2 separate regions of the Homo sapiens genome follow, and region 2 is linked to region 1. Evidence: promoter capture Hi-C in 16 types of primary human blood cells and fetal thymus (Javierre and others, 2016). All regions are on one chromosome and are shown on one strand. Each heading gives the region's core, a stretch centred on a gene start or on the middle of the fragment in contact. The rest is flanking DNA. Distances are from core to core; before and after follow the strand shown. Region 1 holds the start of TMEM196 (transmembrane protein 196). Region 2 overlaps MACC1 (MET transcriptional regulator MACC1).

Evidence for each region. Contacts are between HindIII fragments. The CHiCAGO score rates a contact against its expected background, and 5 or more counts as called.
Region 2: a fragment that was not itself captured here is called in contact with the fragment with the promoter of TMEM196 in region 1 in 1 of 17 cell types (fetal thymus); the score reaches 6.2 in fetal thymus.

The regions. Positions count from the first base shown.
Region 1 is chr7:19,771,603-19,776,134 of GRCh38, forward strand. TMEM196 (transmembrane protein 196) reads right to left here and starts at 2,015. Exons shown (of 5, transcript NM_001363562.2): 1 at 948-2,015. The coding sequence starts at 1,094. The region is part of intron 1 of LOC107986774 (a long non-coding RNA gene); the gene reads left to right. The HindIII fragment of the contact is 8,082 bases long and covers 173-4,532 here.
Region 2 is chr7:20,167,247-20,171,760 of GRCh38, forward strand. MACC1 (MET transcriptional regulator MACC1) reads right to left here. Exons shown (of 7, transcript NM_182762.4): 2 at 3,468-3,532. Among named protein-coding and RNA genes, the nearest start is that of MACC1-AS1, 28 kb to the left of the region's middle. The HindIII fragment of the contact is 1,821 bases long and covers 1,215-3,035 here.

The sequences.
Region 1 (4,532 bases), core at 765-3,264:
AGTAGGATCAAGCTAGGCATCCAGAAGTATATGACACATATATAGCTTGAAGGAAAAAACTGGTTTTCACAATTAGATTCACATTAGGAATGGTGCTGAGTTATTTTATTGAATCTTGGTGGAAGAAATGGGTCTCTAAGGCTTTCTTGGAGATTCATCCTAGTAAAAAAGAAGCTTGTTGAGTCTGACATCTGACCTAGAGATAACTATGACAGTTTCTCTGAGCAGTTAGGTACTCTGTAAGCAGAATTATTCTCCATTTAGAATGTTATTACACGTCTTACCATCTGATGTTTTTCTAACTTACTGTCTAGAACTTACAAAAGCGTTTTCAGAGGTGAAATATCAGAAATGTAGCAAAGGAAAATTAACAGCAATGTTTTCTGGAATGAAATGCACCCACAAACTTCCTTTCACACTCACACCACGTTTCTGTTTTTGTTATTGGTGTTGCCTCTGGTGTACCTTGGGCATTATTGCCCAGGGATAAATGCATAACTATCCCTGCTTGTTCCCTGATACAAAAAAATGATGGAATACTCTTATTTTGATTTTCCTTGTAGAAGGAACAAAAGATTAAGTGAGCCTGCCCTTGACAGGTGTGACACCCCCCTCCCCCCGCCTCCCAAACAGCACCACTGGGCAAAGCAGCCTTTTGTAGAATCAGCCAGTGGAAACTAACCCCCCACCCCCACCTTTAAACAAAGCCATTTAATTTGGTCTTAAGCCCAAGTAAGAAACAAAACAAAACAAAACAAAACAAAACAGAAAACGAATAAAGGACAATATAAAGAAGCATAGCTTGTCAGCATGAACCTACATGCAAGCCAGAGATCTATGATTTTGTTTCCCAGGGAGGGAGTGACTAATGCGCGCACCCTGACCATCACCGTAAAGAGGTAAAGAGAGAGTGAAATGGCTCAACGTACACACACCCCGCTCCATACCGGGGACGAGTCTCCGAGCTGCGGCTTGTGCTCTCGGAGGGCCAGGCTGAAGCTGACCGCCCCCACGGCCACGCTGGACACCCCCAGCCCTATCTCCAGCACGGAGAGCACCAAGAGGCTCCCAATAATCTGACCGCTGGTGCACATCCTTCCTCGGTCATCTTCCTTCCAGATCAGAGAGGGAAATCAACCATCTACCTTTTTTTCTTCCACTATCCTCCTTACCCCTTCCACCCCCTACCAGATCCCAAAACTTTTCTTTCTTCAAGAGCGAGGCATTATCCACAAGGGCTGGATTTCCAGAAACGAAGACCTTCCCTGGCTGGGCCAGAGGCAAAGGAGCTGCTCCACCCCCTGGCACGTTCAGATAGGGATCGTAGAAGGATCTTCCTGGGTTCGGTGGTGCGAAGATTGCACACCGGTACCGGGGCTTTTAAGCAGCGGAAAACCTGGAGGAGCCCAGGGAGCTCCGAGCCTTGCTCCCCAGGCGCTGTCCAGAGTTCTGCCGCGTCCCAAATCTCCGCAGGGAAACCCGCGCCCTCCTCAGCCTACTAGACCCTTTCACAGGGTCCCTTCTGTTTTATTGCCGAGGAGAGGAGCTTTGCTTCCCGGAGATCCAAAGGGAACCGCTCCGAGTTTCTCTCTCCCTCTCCCGTTCGTCACCTCTCCTTTGTTTTCGTGGCAATGCGAAGTGCTTCTGCAAGTCTCTGGGTCCCCAGGCAGAGCGGGCGGATGATATTCAGCACCACGCTCCTTGCAGTTGCTTTGTCGCCAGAAAAAGCGACCTTGTCTGATGGCCTCTTTCCGTCTGGGTTTCTTCTCCCTCGTCGTCGTCCTCTTCCTCCTCCTTTCTCTCGAGCTGATTCTCTTTCATTGCTATGACCTCATTGGGGTTTAGGAGGTTGACGGAGGAGGAAAAAGCCTAATGTATTTGTAGATCCAGGACCAGTACTCTTGGCTGGCCTTTGATCCGCCCCGCCCCCGGACCGCAGCAACAGAAATCCAGGCGACCCCTACCTCCGCTTCTCCCCGTGGCTCCTTTCTGGGCTTCTATCCAGCGGAGAGGGGAGGCGATGCCTACGTCAACGCGGGCTCATTCTGAGAAAAACTTTCTTTAGCTTGTACGCGGGGTAGGGGGAGCAGTGAGCAAAGAAAGACGGAAACCCCAGGGGGGTGGAAAAAGCCAGACTCCTAATGTCACTAGGACTCTCAAGGCCCCTCACCAAGGAACTCCCCTGTCTAGGAGAGCTAGATTCAAGCCTGCTTACAAGGAATGTCCACTCCCGGCCATCACAGCCTGTCACCTTCCGTGTCGTAGGGCGAAGAAGCAGTTGATGGGGGCCACACCTCCACGGTGATTTTGTTCCTCTCCAGCCACAGACCCTTGCTTTCCCCTAGGAGCGTGACCACACGTTCTGGGAGGCATAGCTAGACCCAACTGAGCTGGGATTATATATTCTCAACAAAATTCAAGAGATGTGTATGCATTAGAACAGGCATTATTTAAAAAAAAAACACGTCTGGCTTAATGCACAATTATTTTTGACAGTCTACTTTCATCAGAATCTTTAGGGCAGGGGCCAGTCCAGCTTGGCCTGGGATATTTTTGCATTGTCTTTTGATGCCTATGAGACTCTAGATGTCTAGGGATCGCTGTGTTTAGACCCCATTTTCATTACTCTAGTTTTATGAAAAATCTCAAGGTATTCTATCAAGGAGATCTAGGAAGTGGGATAAAGAGAGGGTTTTGGGTGTGGGTCATCTTTCTCAAAAACTGGGTTCTCCAGTTCGACATGGACTGAAGGAAAATAGAACAAAGGAAGATGAGGTTAGGGTACAATAACACAAGACTAGGGAATGTTGACTTCTATACATCAGTGCAGTGCAGGCGCCTCTATTAGAGGCTTCTTAAAGCTCCCATGATGAGAACATAAAAGCTCGGTGACCTATAGCATAAGTTCTGTAACATAAATGCCAGTTTCAGTTTTCTTAAATTTGATTAAGGGCTTCTTTTAGAGTTTAAACTCAATTCTACACTATAATTTTTTTCATATGTTTATATTCTATAATTTAAAAATTTGAATCCTTTTCTCTTAAAAATAAAACAAATGTAAGGAAGAAGAGTTACAATTTGTTAGGCCTTAAAGAGCTTCAGTTATTGTGATATTTGGAGTACAAATAAACATTGGTACTGAATGATAATTAGTGGATTCATTTCTATGCTTTTAAATCCTCAAAGACATGCTAAAGTACCTCATTAGTGTATGGCTTTAATGATGTAAAGTTTATTTAATTTAAATAATACAGAAGTCATCTAAATGATCCAATTTATATGCATAAATAATACAGCATATATGTTGTTGAAGTTTTGCTTTGTGTTTAGTCACTTCTTTTCTTTAGGAAAAAAATGCTTCTCTGTTAGGAAGACAACAAGTTGTAATATTAAATGAATTGATTAATGGAGACATATAGGAAGGGAAATAAACTTTTGTAGAGAACACAGGGATGGTATTAACAATAGTTGAATTTCACAGAGAAAAAGAAACAAACAAAACATATATTGCGGTTAACATTTTATCTCTGAATGTGATGGCTTGGAATATAAGATTGGTTATCATATGCCTGATAAAAACCAATCCTGATTGATTCTGGGTCATTGGTTAGAAATCCAAAACTTTTGATTTTGTATATGGAAGAAATTCAACTCATCTTCACATAAGTAACTAACAATAATTCACAATAAAACAAATATTTTTACAAATAAAAACAATTATTTTCTATAGAGGAAACTGCTGTTTTGAGTTTTAAAACATGAGCATCAGTGTTAAAATTTTCAAAAAAAATTACGTTATCTTTATTGGGACACAAAGGATATTTTTTGTGCCTTTTAAATATCATGTAATGATCCTCCTAAGATAAATCCAAATACACCTAAAATTTCCTCCTAAATACAGAAATCAAGAAAAAAGAGTTCAAACTGACAAATTATTTATGATTCTTATTATAATTATCCCTCCAAATTATTTGCTAGACAAATAATTATAGGGTAAAAACTATAAATCAAGAAAAAATCATATGAAGCACACCACTATCCAAATACCAGTAGCTCCACAATTTCTGAATTTGATTTTTCTAACGCTGTAGTACACCAAAAGAGCTATTCATGAGATCCATTGATAGATAATTCAATATTTCCACAACTTTGGCAAGAGCAATAGCACAAAAAATCTCAAGTTTGCCATCTGCTGGCTTATGCATGATACAAGTGAATGTGAGTAGCCTCAAAATAATTCTTATTAGATGCCTTAATAAAAGAAAACATCTTTATAGTGGCTAACTTTAAGGACCTAAGCACTTCCAGTAAATATTCAAGAATTCTGAGGTTCTCTCATTCACCCATTTACCCAAATTAGATTATGGAAATTTTAGTATCTGGATGAAGGAAAATCCAGGAATGGGTAGACAGTACACTAATGTCTCCTGTCTTAATATAATAAAGTAAGTTGACAAAATCATCAATGCTGCCACATTAATATAGAGTTATTGAAAAAGCTAAAAATGTGAAATGATTAATTTTAAGATCTG
Region 2 (4,514 bases), core at 875-3,374, 400 kb after region 1:
GTGCAGTGGTGTGATCTCAGCTCACTGCAACCTCCACCTCCCGGGTTCAAGCAATTCTCCTACCTCAGCCTCCTGAGTAGCCAGGACTACAGGTGCATGCCACCACGCCCAGCTAATTTTTTGTATTTTAGTAGAGATGGGGTTTCACCATGTTGCCCAGGCTGGTCTCGAACTCCTGAGCTCAGGCAATCTGCCTGCCTTGGCCTCCCAAAGTGCTAGGATTACAGGCATGAGCCACTATGCCTGGCCTCCATTATCCTCATTTTAAAGGTAGGGAAATAAAGTCTTAGGGACATTATATGCCCAAGATTATAAAGCTACTAAGTAGCAAACCAGTCTTTGAACTTAAGGATACTAGATACTAGCAAACACATTTTTGAACTCTACACAACACTTTCTACCTATAGGTTAAAACTTCTCTTCCAGAGGAAGCGAAATTTGAGACTACACCCTGACCCTGTTGCTGGAGAGTAGTATCAAGCCACAGTGTTGACCCCGGAAGATCTCCAAGTTCACAGCAGGACCTGCATCATGGGCATGTGACCTGTGCAATAACACAGAGCCCCACTCTTGGATAGGCCCCATGCTTGGTGTAATGCTCTGCCACTGCCATCTTGAAATACCTAATATGTTTTGAACAAGAGGTCCCATATTTTCATTTTTCACTGGTGCTGCAAATTATGTAGCTGGTCCTTGTTCACAGAGTTGGCAACCTTTACTCTTCAGACCCAGAGAAATGACTAAAATTACAAGGGGCCATGAAGAAAGGAGAAAAGCATTATTTTGGATGAAGAATGCTCATCTTACAGATGATGAACCAAGCTGCAGAGAGGTTGATAGTTATTTGTCTTTTTTATTTGAATTCCCTACAGTATGTTCATTTTACACGTGTGTGTGCATGAACATACCCACAACACACATGCACTTCCTTGGCTTAAAAATATGTTGAGAAATTTACAAATAGTCAAATAACACAATGAGTTTAAACAACAAGTAAGTGTATATTATTCTTCAGTAAAAAAAAAAAAATTTAAAAACAAAATAAGTGAATAAATAAGGGTGACATTTGCAGGAAGTTGGTAGGACAACTTCAAATAAAAGCAACTTCACAAACATCATGCTGTAAATTCCAGTATACCTATTAGCAGTAGTCCACACATTTGGCTCTCCACTTTCTGAAAGTGACCAAAATAAGGTAAACATGATTAGTTACAAGCTTCACAGTGATCATAGAACACAAAGAAGCCACTTAACAGCAGCACCAGCAATACCTGGAATAAAGAGGGGTGAAGAGGAGCATGTAACTACTGGGGACAGTATCCTCGGTCCCACCTTTTACAGTATGTTCAACAGTAAATCTCTTTAATGGAGCTCTTTCTTAATGTGTGTTGATGTCATCTCACCCAAAGGCAATTCTGTCAAGTCAGGTGGAGAAGAGTGGGCCCAGCTAGACAGCTATCTGCCTCCCTATTCTAAGATAAGCACACATGTCAGGTTACAATCCCAAAAGGACAGGACCTAGTCCAGTAAAGCCCACTATGCTTGGTTCCTCTCAACAGAGTTTCCCTTTCCACTTTTCAAGTCAGAGCTGACTGAGACATTCTAGGCCTAAGATCCAGAGCAGCTTTTTCTTTTGAAGACCCAAACAATTCACTAAGTTAAAGATAGGAGTCACGTTCTCTTGTGAAAATTGAGATGAGTAAATTTGAGATGACAATTGAGATGAGTAGCTAAAATGTAGCCTGAGCAGAAGATCATTCTACTTCTGCATGCTGTGCCATGATAGGGACTGCAGTTTTCCTCAGAAACAGTTTTGTTACTGCTCCCACACAAGAGCATACATTTCCAACTTTCAAGGCCACAGAGCAAAGCTGTAGTACTTTCATTGTGAAAAACATTTAATGACTTCTTTTACCTAATCCCCACTGTTGCCATAAAATATTCCCAGTGATATGTCTCTCAGGTTTAACTTTAAGCAATAGATGTTTCAAGCAAACTCTGAGAAATAAATTAGCTACAAATCTTGTCCCTGGGATTGGACAAGTTTAATTATTGCAAGAGTAGTTGGATATGACTTTGTGTAGTTATGGACCTGCAGTCATTTTTCTTTCCTGTACCCTTCAGTGCAAAAAACGTGTTCTGGGTTGTACTTTTCAAAAGGTATAAAGATCAACCCCCAATTCAGAAGGGGTGGACAAGACGTGGGTTTATAGTGTGGCTAATAAAGCTGTAACTGTAGGGTCCTCACTTGCATGGTCTTTTCTAGCAAACTGAGCCAAATTCTGTATTTGTTTTCTCTGCAAAGCTCCACTGCTTCCTAGAACACTTGACAGTATATCAGGAGACCTCACTGGTTGTCATCAGTCAGCAATGTCTTTCCTTTCTTTTATGTAAATGCATTTTTGTAAAGTAGAAAGAATATAGGCTTTGGAGTTACAATTCTCTGGTTACAGTCCTTCTAGTATAAACTTGGAAAGATACTGAACATTTCTGGAACTCTACTTATCATCTGTAAAGAACTAAACTAAAATAGGTAATAATTAGTATTACTATCAACATATAATAACCCCACATGCTGTTCATAAGGATCAAATGAAATACTGTATAAAAAGTGGCACAAGAGGACCCCTTGCTTTTCCTCTGGTCTCTCCCTCCTGGTTATTCCAGTGCATATAGAAATAACTTTGCCAACTGGGCCCATTCAAGAATCTTCTCCTCTCAATCAGATGTCTTGAGACTCCAATCTCTGATAGCTTACAAGTTGTGTCTTGGGACCCTGTATCCTATTCTTCACCCTTCATAGAAAATTTTACCAGTGCCATGATTCCTGCCAAAAGAGTGACTGGACTCATCACAGCAGAGGCACTGGAGTGCAATAGAAAGAACGCAGTCTTTGAAAATAGACAGACGTAACTTCAGACCAATGCTTAGAAATGAATTCACTGGTCTGAGCACCATTTCCTCATCTACAAAATGAGGGTAAAATATTGTCTTCAAAAAGTGGTTACAATGATACGTGAAATATATCTCAATAAAGCTTTTTTAAAAAATTGTTGTAAATATTGAAATAACATAAATCCCCAATGAACATCAGTTGCTGCTTAAAATGATAATTCTTCTCTGTTTTTCACTTCTGTGCCAATTCCGTTGGTCTTAGACAATGTAATGAGTGGTTACTGACAAAGATATGTAAAGAATATTGGAAAAGAGGAAACAGAATAAACACTGTGAAAGTTTGTCATTTTAGCTTAACAGATTATTCAACTTGACAATACTTTTCACCTCTCTGAAGGGGAAAATGTAAAAATTATTGTATCGTTTAAAATTAGATTTGTGTTAGTACTTTTGCAGTAAAAGCAAGTATTTTTAGCCAACACTTGCTGAGTTGTTACTGTATGGAATTAATCGTAAGATTCCCAGCATTCTTTGCCAAGAGAAAAACACTCTGACATTTTGTGTATACTCACAGTTTTCCTTGGTTTGAACTTCAAACACTGATGTGAATCATTTGCATATCATCTGACAAGGCTACCTACTTGAAAGAGAATAAACATGAATCTTTGGTCACTGTTAAGTGAAAACAGAATGTTTATGCACTAACGTTTGCTATGAGAAAGAGCTTATGAATAAAATTTGGTAGAATGGGTAAGATTAAAGAGAGACTCATTACACCACACCATCCAATTCATACAGCAGGAATTTCCCTTAAATTCTCAACAATTGATTACATCTAGTTTCTAATGTTTCAGGGAATCACACTGTTTCCATTTGTTATTTTTGTAAACAGAACGGTGTGCAACAGTATGAACTCTTTGTCAAAGCAGTGACTTGAAAAATACTAATGCGCATACATGTGTGCATATATCTATTCAGAAATATAGACAACTGATAGAGAAAGATGGATATTGATATAGACATATATATGATTCAGCTGAACAAAAGTATTTTTGTTATTATTAATGCTCCACTGATTTCTGATTACTAGAAACTGGAAGATTATTTTATTTTCTTTTTTTTTTTTTTGAGGTGGAGTCTTGCTCTGTCGCCCAGGCTGGAGTGCAGTGGCGCTATCTTGGCTCACTGCAAGCTCCGCCTCCCAGGTTCACACCATTTTCCTGCCTCAGCCTCCTGAGTAGCTGGGACTACACGTGCCCGCCACCACGCCCAGCTAATTTTTTTTTATATTTTTAGTAGAGACGGAATTTCACCGTGTTAGCCAGGATGGTCTCGATCTCCTGACCTTGTGATCCGCCTGCCTCGGCCTCCCAAAGTGCTGGGATTACAGGCATGAGCCACCACGCCCGGCTGATTATTTTCTTTCTTAGAGACAATTATATCTGTTTTTTTTTTTTTGAGATGGAGTCTCGTTCTGTCGCCCAGGTTGGAGTGCAGTGGTGTGATCTCAGCTCGCTGCAACCTCCACCTCCCAGGTTCAAGCAATTCTTCTGCCTCAGCCTCCCATGTAGCTGGGATTACAGATGCCCACCACCACGCCTAGCTAATTTTTGTAATTT